Linked DNA regions of Homo sapiens: regions 2, 3, 4 and 5 are each linked to region 1. Evidence: promoter capture Hi-C in 16 types of primary human blood cells and fetal thymus (Javierre and others, 2016). All regions are on one chromosome and are shown on one strand. The core of a region is centred on a gene start or on the middle of the fragment in contact, and the rest is flanking DNA. Distances in the headings are between cores, read along the strand shown.

Region 1 (2,700 bases), core at 199-2,698:
TTTCAAGACAACTTGCCTGGATTCTTCCAAATATTTAGTGTCATGAAAAACAAACAAGAAGGCAGGTGATTCTGGACTAAAGGAAGATGACCAAATACAATGCATGAAACGTGAATGGATCCTAGTATTGGAAAAAAGGGAGAATGAGGAAGAGTGCTATGATGTGGTAAAGAAATTATTTCAGTCTATATTATCATAATATGTGAAAAAAGCAAGGTGAAAGCCGGGGTGTTGGCTCATGGCTGCAATCCCAGCACTTTGGGAGGCTGAAACGGGCAGATTGCTTGAGCCCAGGAGTCTGAGACCAGCCTGTGCAACATGACGAAACCCCGTAAAATGTTCCAACTAGGACAACTGGGGAAATTTAAGTGCGGACTCTTCCTTAAATAATATTGACTTACTTCCTAAAGTTGTGATAAAGGTACTTTGGTTCCATAGTTAAGATGCTTATTTTTAGGAGTGAAGAACAAGATGCCCATAAATGGTTTAGAAAAACAAAAATCCTAGCAAAATGTTAACCATTGTGAGTCTAGGTGAGGGGTCAGCTGTTCATTTTACTAAACTTTCACATTTTCCGAAATAAAACGTTGGGGGAACAAGTATTTTTTTTGAGGCGGGCTGGAGTGCAGTGGCCCGATCACAGGTCACTGCAGACTCCAACTCCTGGCTCCCACCTCAGACCCCCCAACAGCTGGGACTACAGGCACTGGCCACCACATCTGGCTAATTTTTTTGATTTTGTGTATGGATGGAGTCTCGCTTTCTTGTCCAGGCTGGCCTCATACTCGTGGGCTCAAGCGATCCTCCCACCTCGGCCTCTCAAAGTGCTGGAATTACAGGCGTAAGCCACCGCGTCCGGTCAAAAAATCAATTTCTAGGGAAAAATGTCAACTCAAAACAAGTAACCTGCATAGCTCGGGAATGCCTGTATAATTTACGTCAAGTCTCTCCTTGGGACGGACCGGTGAAATTGCACGCAGCACAAAGACCGGCTCTTACCCTTACTTCCGGGTATTGTGGTACAGGAACCCGAGGTTGCCTGCGCGTAAGCCACGTGACTCGAGCAGCTCCTTCTGATTGGAGGAAGAGCCACTGCTCTAATTCGGTGCCGTGAGAAAGCTCGCGCGCGGAGCAGTGGGAGCGGGCGGGACTGAATATTTTCTTTGACCAACCGCTTTCCACATATCCATCCTCCTGATCCCGTAGCGTCGAATCAAAAGCCGTTAGTAAAGTAGTTACTTCTTTCTCTTAGGATAGCCGGTCTTTCCGGGTTTTCCCCCCCTTCCCCCTCCCCTCTCCCCACTTCCCCCTCCCTTTCCCCTCTGTTTTGAGCTTCCGGTAGAGGCTGGTAGGGTAAGGGAGCTCAGTAAGTCACTTCTGGGCGACTGTTGTTTTATTTCCGGTCTATGGGACCCGGCTGCGATTTGCTGCTGCGGACAGCAGCTACCATCACTGCTGCCGCCATCATGTCAGACACGGACAGCGACGAAGATTCCGCTGGAGGCGGCCCATTTTCTTTAGCGGGTTTCCTTTTCGGCAACATCAATGGAGCCGGGCAGCTGGAGGGGGAAAGCGTCTTGGATGATGTGAGGGGGTGGGCGTGGGGGTAGGGCTCGGGGGGTGGGGCTAAGCAGAGGAAGGAGGTGCGGGGAGGAAAGGAGAGGGTGCTCAGGCAGCGAGAACAGGGCGCAGCTAACGCCGGGGAGGAGGATCCCGTCCTCATGGGTGCGGGAGCAACGTGGCGTGGGAGTGATCGTTCTGGGGGAGAGTGGGCAGAAGAGAGCGCGAGGCGAGCCCGGGGCCAGGGGCGCAGGGAATAGTGGCTTTGGAGCTAGCGCTCTGCCGACCAGACAGTAGGACACATGCTGGTTTCGCCTACTGAGATGGCTTCCCACCCGTAACCTGCTTGGAGATTCTTGACACTGCCTGCCCCTCTGACATCGCTGCCCTGAGATGGCTCTATAGAGCCAGAGGACTGGACAGGACCTGCCTCCCGCTCGTTTGGTTCCGGCCTCAGGCTTAGGACAATGGGGTGTTCCTAGCACCCGAGCGGGCCTCCTGGTCACAGTGCGCCTTTTAGGTGGCTCTCCCAGCGTCTTCACTGACTTTCGTGAAATAGTGTCCTGCGCCCTAGTGAAACTACCCTGCCTTCACTTAGGCCCGTTTTCTTGAGGAGTGAAGCTGTCGGCCGCTGTGGCCCCTCCTGTGCCGCAGGCGCATGCGAAACAGGGACCGAACGAGCCCCGCCTCGACGCCTCCAATCCCACTGATCCCCCTGCCTCGGCCCTCGTTCCGAGAACGACCGTTCCATTCATTCAGTCTTGGCAGTAGTTATTTGATTCGTCTTCTCTTGTAGTATACTTTAAAGTGTGGGCGATGCAGTTGGCTGTGGTGCTTTAATAAAGATCTGATCGATGCGGAGTTTGGTAGATGTATATTACAGTTCTCGAACGTGTTGCTTGTTTTGGCACACTGCACAGTCATTTTTCATGTGGATTTGTGACTTTGTCGTGGACCAGGGAAATAAGTCCTGTGGTGTGGGAGTCGTAGGTTTAGTTGTTATCTTCGACTCGTGCTGTCCCTTTTTCAGGAATGTAAGAAGCACTTGGCAGGCTTGGGGGCTTTGGGGCTGGGCAGCCTGATCACTGAACTCACGGCAAATGAAGAATTGACCGGGACTGACGGTGCCTTGGTAAATGA
Region 2 (2,976 bases), core at 460-2,959, 350 kb before region 1:
TGGCACAATCATAGCTCACTGCAGCCTCACACTCCTGGTCTCAAGTGATCTTACTGCCTCAGCCTCTCAAGTTGCTGGGATCACAAACCCAAGCTACTGTGCCCAGCTAAGTTTTGTATTTTTACTAGAGACGGCGTTTCACCATGTTGGCCAGGCTGGTCTCAAACTCCTGACATCAAGTGATCCACCAGCCTTGGCCTCCCAAAGTGCTGGGAGTATGGTCGTGAGCCACTGCACCTGGCCAGGAGATCTATTGTACATCATGATGACTATAGTGGCTCCCAGGCATTGGGAGAAAAGGAATGAATAGGTGGAGCACAGAGGATTTTTAGGGCAGTGAAACTATTCTGTATGATACTGTAATGGTAGATACATGTCACTAAACATTTGTTGAAACCCATAGAATATATAATACCAAGAGTGAACCCTAATGTAAACTATAGACCTTGGGTAGTAATGATGGTTCATTGATAGTGACAAATATACCACTCTGGTGTGGGATGTTGATAGTAAAAGAGATTGTGCGTGTGTGGACAGGAAGTATACGGGAACTCTCTATACCTTTTGCTCAATTTTGCTGTGAACTAAAACTTCTCTAAAAAATAAAGTGTATGGCCAGAAGCGGTGGCTCATGCTTGTAATCCCAGCACTTTGGGAGGCCAAGGTGGGTGGATCATGAGGTCAGGAGTTCGAGACCAGCCTGGCCAACATGGTAAAACCCCGTCTCTACTAAATACAAAAATTAGCCAGGCGTGGTGGTGCGCGTCTGTAGTCCCAGCTACGCTGGAGGCTGAGGCAGGAGAATCACTTGAACCTGGGAGTTGGAGGTTGCAGTGAGCCAAGATCGCACCATTGCACTCCAGCCTGGGCAACAGAGCAAGACCCTGTCTCAAAAAATTAAAATAAATAAAACAATGTAAAACAATAACAACAAAAAATCCTGTATCTTTAAACTTTATCCCCTATGACTCCTTTTTTAGGCCTCCTGCCCTTTTAGGGCAAATTCTCCTGCCTCAGCCTCCCAAGTAGCTTTTTTAGGCCTCACAAAACTTGGTCCATAAAAACCAGTCCATCCCTTTCCTTGCTATCTAGACTGAGAGGCCTAACTCCTCCTCCTTAACTTTGATAAGCCGTCTGAAAAGCCTCTTTAGTACCTCTTCTTTAGTCTCCCTGTGACACTTCAACTCCCGGCAGCCTGCTTTACTCTACCCAGACAAATAACCTAATGACTTATGTCCAAAAGGTGATCTGAACTGATTAAGGAGGAAACTCTTTTTTCTTAGAGATTGTGTCTCACTATGTTGCCCAGGCTGGTCTCAAACTACTGGTCTGAAGTGATTCTCCCACCTCAGCCTCCTGAGTAGCTGGGACTACAGGTGCGTGCCGCCATGCCCAGCTATCTTTTATACTTTACCATCTTCTCTGTTTTCAACTAGCATGGCCTATCCACCTAACCTGTCCATCGTTTTACTATTTTCCAAAAAATTCAAGATTTGAGTCAAACAGAAACATTAAAAATACTAATGGTAAATACTAAGAATGCTAATGTTGGCTGGGCGCGGTGGCTCATGCCTGTAATCCCAGCACTTTGGGAGGCCGAGGCAGGCAGATCACCTGAGGTCAGGAGTTTGAGACCAGCCTGACCAACATGGATAAACCCCATCTCTACTAAAAATACAAAATTAGCTGGGCGTGGTGGCGCATGCCTGTAATCCCAGCTACTCGGGAGGCTGAGGCAGGAGAATTACTTGAACCCAGGAGGCGGAGGTTGCAGTGAGCCAAGATTGTGCCATTGCATTCCAGCCTGGGCAACAAAAGTGAAACTCCATCTAAAAAATAATAATAATAAAAAGAATGCTCATGTTAAAAGTACTATTCTGGAAGGAAAGTATATTAGTCAGAGTTCTCCTGACTATTATATTATATATATATCCTGAAAGTATATTAGTCAGAGAACCAATAGGATACATATAGATAGATATATGAGAGGGAATTTATTAGGGGAATTGGCACACATGATTATAGAGGCTGAGAAATCCCACAACAGGCCATCTGCAAGCTGGAGACCCCAGGATGCTGATAGCATGGTTCAGTCCAAGTCTGAAGGCCTCAGAACCAGGGAAGCCAATGGCGTGTAACTCTCAGTCGGAGGCCAGAGGCCTGAGAACCGAAGGTTAGGCAGGGAGCACTGGTGTAAGTTCTGGAGTCCAAAGACCGGGGAGACCAGAGTTCTGTTGCCCAAAGCAGGAGACAAATGTATCCCAGCTCCAGCAGATAAATCAACACATTTGCCTTTTTCTCATTTTTTGTTCTCTACAGGTCCCTAACAGATTGAATGATGCCTGCCCACACTAAGGGCAAATCTTCCCCACCTAGTCCACTCAGACTCACACAATCATCTCTTCTGGAAACCCTCACAGACACACTCCAAAATAATGCTTTACCAGGATTCTAGGTATTCCTTAATCCAGTCAAGTTGACATCTAAAATTAACCATCAGAGAAAATATATAGAAGTTCTAATTTCTTACAAACTCAGGAAACAAAAGGGAACTACTTTCCTTCAAATGAGTCTAATTTGCATTCATTATAGCCTGATGTCCAAGAGGCTCTGACCCTTAAACTTCTGTAAGCTGCTCTGACAATAAATAAGTAATTGCATACCTATCTGTGAAGAATAATCCTTCACATGATTCAACTTCCTTCTCATTAACTCTGCTTTCCACTGCCTAATAATAGTGACTATTTACTGAGCTCTAAGTATGTGCCAGGCATCGTGTTGAGTGCTTTATTTTTTTAATTTAATTCTTACAGTAAGTATCAATCCACTTGATAGATGAAGAAACTGAAGTTTGGAGAAAGTAAGTAATATTTCCATGATCAGGCAGCTAGTACACAGAAGAGCCAGGATTCATTCTTTCAACTATTAAATATTAAAGAAATCTTTTTTTGTTGTTAATAAAATTTTTGTGGTTTT
Region 3 (2,840 bases), core at 150-2,649, 270 kb after region 1:
TTATAGTTCTAGAAGTCAGAAGTCTGAGATGCGGGCTGGGTGCAGTGGCTCAAGCCTGTAATCCCAGCACTTTGGGAGGCTGAGGCGGGCGGATCACCTGAGGTCAGAAGTTCGAGACCAGCCTGGCCAACATGGTGAAACAAATAATATTTTTAGTCTCTACTAAAAATAAAAATAAAAAATTAGCCAGGCGTGGTGGCATGCACCTGTAGTCCCAGTTACTGGGGAGGCTGAGGCAGGAGAATTGCTTGAACCCAGGACGCGGAGGTTGCAGTGAGCCAAGATCCTGCCATTGCACTCTAGCCTGGGTGACAAGAGTGAAAATCTGACTCAAAAAAAAAAAAAAAAAAAGCCTGAGATGCGTCTCACTGGACTAAAATCAAAGTGTTGGCAGGCTTGGTGTTTCTTCTAGAGGCTCTAGGGAAGAGTCTATTTCCTTGCGTTTTCCAACTTCTGGATGCCTTGGCCCATGGCCCCTTCCCCCATCTTAAAACCTGGTAACGTCAGGCCAAGTCCTTCTCACACTGCCATCTGTCTGGTTCGTTCATTCTGCCTCCCTCTTCTACTTATAGGGATGCTGAGATTACACTGGGCCTACCTGGATAATCCAAGAGAATATCCCTGTCACAAGTGTGCTGATTGGCAACCTTAATTTTATCTGCAATCTTCATTCCCCTTCGACATGTAATCTCACACACACACAGGTTCTGGGTTAGGATGTGGATGTAGATATCTTTGGTAGTTGGGGAATTATTCTGCCTACCACAGAGGCCTAGGAAGAAAAGGGTCGTTATCCTAGGAGGAAAAGTGGCAATGTCCCCTGGGAGATTTCCTGTGAAAACATGATGTTGGGCTACACCCCCCACTTAAGTATTTTAAGCTTGGTTTTTTCTTTTTGTGGAGACCGGGTTTCACTATGTTGCCCAGGCTGGTCTCGATCCTCCCACCTTGGCCTCCCAAAGTGCTGGGACTACATGCATGAGCCTCTGTGCCCGGCCTAAGTATTTTAACATTAGATTGGATGTTGGCTTTTTATTTTATTTTATTATTATTATTTTTTCCAAGACAGAGTCTCGCTCTGTCACCCAAGCTGGAGTGCAGTGGTGCAATTTGGGCTCACTGCAACCTCTGCCTCCCTGGCTTCAAGCGATTCTCCTGCCTCAGCCTCCCAAGTAACTGGGACTACAGGCACGTGCCACCACATCCGGCTAATTTTTTTGTATTTTTAGTAGACAATCAGTTTATCCCTTTAGGTGCCATAGGCTGAAGCCTGTATCTTCCCTCCTTGTGTTTCCCTCTTTCTCCCCACACCTTATCAAAATGAAGCCAGCTATGTGCTTTATTGCCTCAGGAGAGGTATACAGCCTGGGTAGAAGGAGAAGAGGGAGGAGAGAGAGAGCTGTGGGTCCCCGGGCCCTGCTTCCTAGTAACACTCTGAGGAGCTGGTAATTCCCCAAAGAGGAGTGGTCCCTTGGTGTGTGCAGGGAGATGCACCGGAAACTGCAGGCCTTCCAGCTGCCTGGCAGATTTCCTCAGCCACAGAAGCAGCAATGAACAGGGTAGAATGAATGGCTTAGCAGAAACTTACAGACAACAAGACCCTCTACCCCTCTGCCCCTAGATGTCTGATACCGTGAAAGGTCCCAAGACCTCTTCTTGACATCAGGGAAGCAGGAAATGTGAGGATGACTCAGGGTGAATTTCCCAGACTCTGCCAAGACGGAGTGCAGAATTGAAATTAGATTGATATAGAAAAACAATAAAGAGAGGCAATGTTTCTTGTATACCTAGATTTATAGTCTGGGATGACTAACAATAAAGAAAGATACACCTTTCAATGTACTGAGGAGCCTGGGCATAGTAGAAGAGAAAGCAGGGGGGAGCCATGCATAGTACACGGGGAATCACAAGTTTAACATGAAGCTTTTGATTTTCTTTATCCACATCAGAGAATATGATTCTCCTTCACAGGGCAGTTAATATGCAATAGCATTATGGGAAGACTGAGAAAGAATGAAAAATAGCTGGGGTGCTCTAAAGAACATTTCCTACGTAAATTGGTGCAGCCTTTTTGGAGAGCAGCTGGGTAGTATCTAGGCAACAGGTGCATCTGCGATGATTCAGCAACCCTACCAGCACAAGTGCTCAGAAGCGTATGTTCTTAAATAGGTTCCCTCCTCTCTGCCCTTCCTCCCGAGGCTCAAGCTGGCATCTCTCTACTGGCCCGCTGTGACAGCCCCTCTTACCTGATTCCCCTGTGCCCAGTCTTGCCTTGATATGGAAAGATTGCTCAGGATACAAATCTAATCATATCATTTCCCTGTTCAAAACTCGACAGTGCTCTTCCCCATGGCCCTGTGTATATAGGTCGATGCCCTGAGCCTGACACACAAGGCCCCAGTGGCCTGGCTCTTTAACAAGAGTCCCACTTACTAAGCATACTGCCAAGTTTGTTCACCAAATGAGTCAACAGGCTCCTCTCCATGCCTCTGTGCATGTGTTCCCATGTGCTCTGTCCTAACTCAGTTGCCTTATCCATTGGGAATCTCTTCCTTTCAGAAGCTGGCCTCAAACCTCCAATGCAGTAGTGACTGCTTCTTTTTGGGCTCCCACAGGACAGTCTGCACCAGCGTAGAATAGAATTTTGGATACCGGATTTTAATTTTTTTTTTTTTTTTTTTTTGAGACAGGGTCTTGCTCTGTCGCCTAAGCTGGAGTGCAATGGCATGATCTCGGCTCATTGCAACCTCTGCCTCCCAGGCTCCAGTGATCCTCCCACCTCAGCCTTCTGGATTGTAATTTTTAAAACAATTCTTTTTCCTCCACTTAAAGAATTCTTT
Region 4 (2,723 bases), core at 208-2,707, 370 kb before region 1:
CTATGTTGAATAACAGTGTTTACAGTAGTCATCCTTGTTGTGTTCCAGATCTTAGAGTAAAGGCCTTGAGGTTTTCCTCATTCAGTATGATACTAGCTGTGGTCTGTCATATATGGCTTGTGTTGTGTTGAGGTATGTTTCTTCTATACCCAGTTTCTTGAGGATTTTTATCATGAAGGGATGTTGAATTTTATTAAATGTTTTTTCAGCATCAGTTGAAATGATCATATGGTTTCTGTCCTTTGTTCTATTGGTATGACATATCTCATTGATTGATTTGCATACATTAAACCATCCTTGCATCCAGAGATAAATCCCACTTGGCCATGATGAATGATCTTTTAATGTGTTGTTGAATTCGATTTGCTAGTCTTTTTTTGTCTTTTTTTTTTTTTTAGTAGAGACAGGGTCTCACTATGTTGCCCAGTCTGGTCTCAAACTCCTGGCTTCAAGTAATCCTCCCACATTGGCCTCCCAAAGCACTGGGATTGACAGGCATGAGCCATTGCATCTGACTGGTTTGTTAGTATTTTCTTGAGGATTTTTTTTTTTTGAGATAAGATCTCACCCTGTTGCCCAGGCTGGAGTGCAGTGGCACGATCTCAACTCACTGCAACCTCTGCCTCCCAGGTTCAAGCAATTCTCATGGCTCAGCCTCCTGAGTAGCTGGGTTTACAGACGTGCAGCAACACGCCCAGCTAATTTTTGTATTTTTAGTAGAGATGGGGTTTCACCGTGTTGGCCGCGCTGGTCTCAAACTCCTGGCCTCATGTGATCCACCCGCCTCATCCTCCCAAAGTGCTGGGATTACAGGCGTGAGCCACCATGCCTGGCCTTCTTGAGAATTTTTACGTTAACGTTCATCAGGGATACTGGCCTGTAGTTTTCTTTTTCTGAAGTGTCTTTGTCTGGTTTTGGTATCAGGGTAATACTGGCCTTGTAGAGTGTGTTTGAAAATATTCCCTCCTCCTCTGTTATTCAGAATAGTTTGAATAGGATTGGTATTAGTTCTTCTTAAAATGTTTGGTAAAATTCAGCAGTGAAGCCATTGGGCCCCAGGATTATCTTTGCTGGGAGACTTAGTATTATAGCTTCGATCTCATTACTTGTTATTGGTGTGTTCAAGTTTTGGATTTCTTCATGGTTCAATCTTGGGAAGGTGTATATGTCTAGGAATTTATTCATTTCTTCAAGGTTTTCTAACTTATTGGCATATAGTTGCTCATAGTGGCCTCTAATGATCCTTTGAATTTCTGCAGTATCAGTTGTAAAGTCTCCCTTTTCATCTGTGATTTTATTTATTTGGATAATCTCTCTTCTGTTCTTAGTCTGACTAAAGGTTTGTCAATATTGTTTATCTTTTCCAAAAAATACACAACTTTTCATTTCATCAATCTTTTGTATTGTTTTATTTGTTTCAATTTCACTTATTTCTGCTCTGATCATTACTATCTATTTTCTTCTACTAATTTTGGGGTTGTTTTTTCTTGTTTTTCTAGTTTTTCTAGTTCTGTCTCATGCATCATTAGGTTCTATTCTTCAAATAAACCACCTAATGATGCATGTTAAAGAACTAGAAAAGTTCATTTAGGTTGTTTATCTCTTCAACTAGAACTAGGTTGAAGTTTTTTCTAGGTTGGTGCAAAAGTAATTGCGGTTTTTGCCATTGAAAGTGAAAACCATTACTTTTTGCCATTATGTTCAATGGCAAAAACCGCGATTACTTTTGCATCAACCTAATACTTTTTTGACGTAGGTGCTTATAGCTATAAACTTCCCTCTTAGTACTGCTTTCACTGCGTCCCATAGGTTTGGGTATGTTGTGCTTCCATTATCATTTGTTTCAAGAAATTTTTCAGTTTTCTTCTCATTTTTTTTATTGGCCTACTTGTCATTTAAGTGCATGGTGTTTAATTTCCATGTGTTTGTATAGTTTCCAAAATTCCTCTTGTTATTGATTTCTAGTTTTATTCCACTGTGGTCAGAGAATGTACTTGACATAATTTTTTTTTAATGTTTTAAGACTTGTTTTGTGGCCTAACATATAGTCTATCCTTGAGGATGATCCATTTGCTGATGAGAAGATGTGTATTCTGCAGCCATTGGATGAAATGTTCTGTAAATATCTTTTAGATCAGTTTGCAGATCTTAATCTATAGTGCAGATTAAGTCCAATGTTTCTTTGTTGGTTTTCTGTCCAGATGATCTGTCCAATGCTAAAAGTGAGGTGTTGAAGTCTACAGCTATTATTGTATTAGGTTCTGTCTCTTTCTTTAGCTCTAATAATATTCCTTTTGTATATCAGGGTGCTCTGGTGTTGGATGCATATGTATTTAAAATTGTTATATCCTCTTGCTGAATTTATCATTATATAATGACCTTCTTTGTCTCTTTATATATAATGACCTTCTTTGTCTCTTTATATATATTTATATTTATATTATATAATGACCTTCTTTGTCTCTTTATAGTTTTTGTCTTGAAATCTATTTTGTCTGACAGAAGTACAGCTACTCCTTCTCCTTTTTTATTTCCATTGGCATGGAATATCTTTTTCCATCCCTTTATTTTCAGTCTATGTGTGTCTTTATAGGGGAAGTGTGCTTCTTGTAGGCAACAGATCATTGGGTCTTGCTTTTTTTTTATCCATTCAGCCACTCTGTGTCTTTTGATTGGAGAGTTGAGTCCATTTACATTCAATGTTATTATTAAACTGATGACAA
Region 5 (2,914 bases), core at 137-2,636, 290 kb after region 1:
CATAAACCAGTGTGGAGCCTTCACTCAAGCCACCCTCAGGGAGTACAAGGCTAGAAACAAAAGCAGGGGAAACTCATCCTGGGATGGAGGTTGACTTTTTAGGAAAATGCCTCTGGCTTTATTCACAACAATAAGGCCCCAAAGGGCTGCACAGTCCAGCCTGCTATCTCTCTGTTTGTCAGGGCCCCGTGCTTTGTGTAGCACATCAGTGGTCTTAGTTGGGCCTGAGGAGAAGAAACAGGAAGAAAAGAGTTGCTGGGGAAAGCAGCTGGCAAGGTTGGCGTTAGGATGGAAGTGCCAAACAGGCAAAGGAGATGCAGCCCATCAGAAGGATTGCCAACACTGCTTCCATTTTAATTGGCACAAATGGCCCTTTCAATCCCAGCAGCTAACAGTAGAGAAGAGGAGAAACTCAAAAGGCATGAGATCACTAGCTGCCTCCACTTGCATCCCAGCAAACAGCTTAAAACGGCACTGCCCTCACCTGGTCAAATTCATGTATTACATTGAAGGCACATGTTTTTAGATTTTTTTTTTGGTCATTTCTTTTTCTCCAGTTCTTGGTCCTCCACCTCTGAGAATAAGTGGATGGGGAGGTGACAAATCTCCCCTGAGAAAATGTACCAAGTGCATGGGATTCCAGCACAAAGTCACAAACTGTGAATGAAAACTTACCACCCAAATATAAAATACTTACCAAAACATCGAAATTAATATCCCAATTATGTAAGCATCACTCCTATGATGTTTAGTGAAATCTATGAGAATATGAAAATAAAACTATTTTTATCAATAAACTGATATTACTACTCTCAAAGAGATCTGCTATAAATAGAGAAAATAATTTTGGTTATCCTTCTGGTTATAAAATACTTGACTGTTTAATGCAATGTTACTTCCCTTACCACTATTTTTTCTCTGCTTATGGCAGTAAGTAACATACAGAAAGAAAACATCACAATCTATGTGCGTAGTTTAATAAATAATTATCAAGTGCACCTGTATGGGAACTCCACTAGGCAGTCCCCCAGTAGGGACTCTGTGTGGTGGCTCCGACTCCACATTTCCCTTCTGCACTGCCCTAGCAGAGGTTCTCCACAATGCTCCCCCTGCAGCAAACTTTTGCCTGAGCATCCAGGCGTTTCCATACATCTTCTGAAATCTAGGCAGAGGTTCCCAAACCTCAATTCTTGACTTCTGTGTAGCCGCAGGCTCAATACCTCATGGAAGCTGCCAAGACTTGGGGCTTCCACCTTCTAAGGCCACAGCTTGAGCTCTGCATTGGCCCCTTTCAGCCATGGCTGGAGTGGCTGGGCACCAAGTTCCTAGGCTGCACACTGCATGGGAACCCTGGGCCCAGCCCACAAAACCACTTTTTCCTCTTGGGCCCCTGGGCCTGTGATGGGAGGGGCTGCCTTGAAGTTCTCTGACATGGCCTGGAGACATTTTCCCCAGGGTCTTGGGGATTAACATTAGTCTCCTTGCTCTTTATGCAAATTTCTGCAGCCGGCTTGAATTTCTCCTCAAAAAAAGGAGTTTTTCTTTTCTACTTAACTGTCAGGCTGCAAATTTTCTGAACTTTTATGCTGTTTCTCTTTTATTTGTTTATTTATTTATTTTTATTATACTTTAAGTTCTAGGGTACATGTGCACAACATACAGGTTTGTTACATATATATACATGTGCCATGTTGGTGTGCTACACCCATTAACTCATCATTTACATTAGTTATATCTCCTAATGCTATGCCTCCCCCCTTCCCCCACCCCAAGACAGGCCCTGGTGTGTGATGTTCCCCACCCTGTATTCAAGTGTTCTCATTTTTCAATTCCCACCTATGGGTGAGAACATGTGGTGTTTGGTTTTCTGTCCTTACTATAGTTTGCTCAGAATGATGGTTTCCAGCTTCATCCATGTCTCTACAAAGGACATGAATGCATCCTTTTTTATGGCTACATAGTATTCCATGGTGTATATGTGCCACATTTCCTTAATCCAGTCTATCATTGATGGACACTTGGGTTGGTTCCAAGTCTTTGTTATTGTGAATAGTGCCGTAATAAACATATGTCAGCATGTGTCTTTATAGAAGCATGATTTATAATCCTTTGGATATATACCCAGTAATGGGATGGCTGGGTCAAATGGTATTTCTAGTTCTAGATCCCTGAGGAATCGCCACACTGTCTTCCACATGTTTGAACTAGTTTACAGTCTCACCAACAGCATAAAAGTGTTCCTATTTCTCCACATCCTCTCCAGCACCTGTTGCTTCCTGACTTTTTAATGATTGCCATTCTGACTGGTGTGAGATGGTATCTCATTGTAGTTTTGATTTGCATTTCTCTGATGGCCAGTGATGATGAGCATTTTTTCATGTGTCTGTTAGCTGCATAAATGTCTTCTTTTGAGAAGTGACTGTTCATATCCTTCACCCAGTTTTTGATGGGGTTTTTTGATTTTTTCTTGTAAATTTGTTTAAGTTCTTTGTAGATTGTGGATATTAGCCCTTTATCAGATGGGTAGATTGTAAAAATTTTCTCACATTCTGTAGGTTGCCTGTTCACTCTGATGGTAGTTTCTTTTGCTGTGCAGAAGCTCTTTAGTTTAATTAGATACCATTTGTCAATTTTGGCTTTTATTGCCATTGCTTTTGGTGTTTTAGTCGTGAAGTCCTCACCCATGCCTATGTCCTGAATGGTATTACCTAGGTTTTCTTCTAGGGTTTTTATCGTTTTTGGTCTAATATTTAAGTCTTTAATCCATCTTGAATTAATTTTTGTATAAGGTGTAAGCAAGGGATCCAGTTTCAGCTTTCTCCATATGGCTAGCCAGTTTTCCCAGCACTATTTATTAAATAGGGAATCCTTTCCCCATTTCTTGTTTTTGTCAGGTTTGTTAAAGATCAAATTG

Evidence for each region. Contacts are between HindIII fragments. The CHiCAGO score rates a contact against its expected background, and 5 or more counts as called.
Region 2: a fragment that was not itself captured here is called in contact with the fragment with the promoter of TAF1 in region 1 in 2 of 17 cell types (M1 macrophages and non-activated CD4 T cells); the score reaches 5.6 in M1 macrophages.
Region 3: a contact is called between a fragment that was not itself captured here and the fragment with the promoter of TAF1 in region 1, in 6 of 17 cell types (total B cells, non-activated CD4 T cells, activated CD4 T cells and 3 more). The highest score is 9.0, in total B cells.
Region 4: a contact is called between a fragment that was not itself captured here and the fragment with the promoter of TAF1 in region 1, in 1 of 17 cell types (fetal thymus). The highest score is 6.0, in fetal thymus.
Region 5: a fragment that was not itself captured here is called in contact with the fragment with the promoter of TAF1 in region 1 in 2 of 17 cell types (activated CD4 T cells and non-activated CD4 T cells); the score reaches 7.1 in activated CD4 T cells.

What each region holds. Positions count from the first base shown.
Region 1 is chrX:71,364,909-71,367,608 of GRCh38, forward strand. It overlaps TAF1 (TATA-box binding protein associated factor 1), which reads left to right and starts at 1,449. Exons shown (of 38, transcript NM_004606.5): 1 at 1,449-1,586; 2 at 2,591-2,700. The coding sequence starts at 1,467. RefSeq lists enhancers at 213-782, 951-1,000, 1,491-1,540, 2,059-2,700 and a silencer at 1,141-1,330. The HindIII fragment of the contact is 14,477 bases long and covers 1-2,700 here.
Region 2 is chrX:71,013,194-71,016,169 of GRCh38, forward strand. No RefSeq gene overlaps it. Among named protein-coding and RNA genes, the nearest start is that of SNX12, 54 kb to the right of the region's middle. The HindIII fragment of the contact is 5,492 bases long and covers 1-2,976 here.
Region 3 is chrX:71,634,967-71,637,806 of GRCh38, forward strand. No RefSeq gene overlaps it. Among named protein-coding and RNA genes, the nearest start is that of CXCR3, 18 kb to the left of the region's middle. The HindIII fragment of the contact is 1,043 bases long and covers 879-1,921 here.
Region 4 is chrX:70,993,896-70,996,618 of GRCh38, forward strand. No RefSeq gene overlaps it. Among named protein-coding and RNA genes, the nearest start is that of SLC7A3, 64 kb to the left of the region's middle. The HindIII fragment of the contact is 8,810 bases long and covers 1-2,723 here.
Region 5 is chrX:71,652,182-71,655,095 of GRCh38, forward strand. No RefSeq gene overlaps it. Among named protein-coding and RNA genes, the nearest start is that of CXCR3, 35 kb to the left of the region's middle. The HindIII fragment of the contact is 6,979 bases long and covers 1-2,914 here.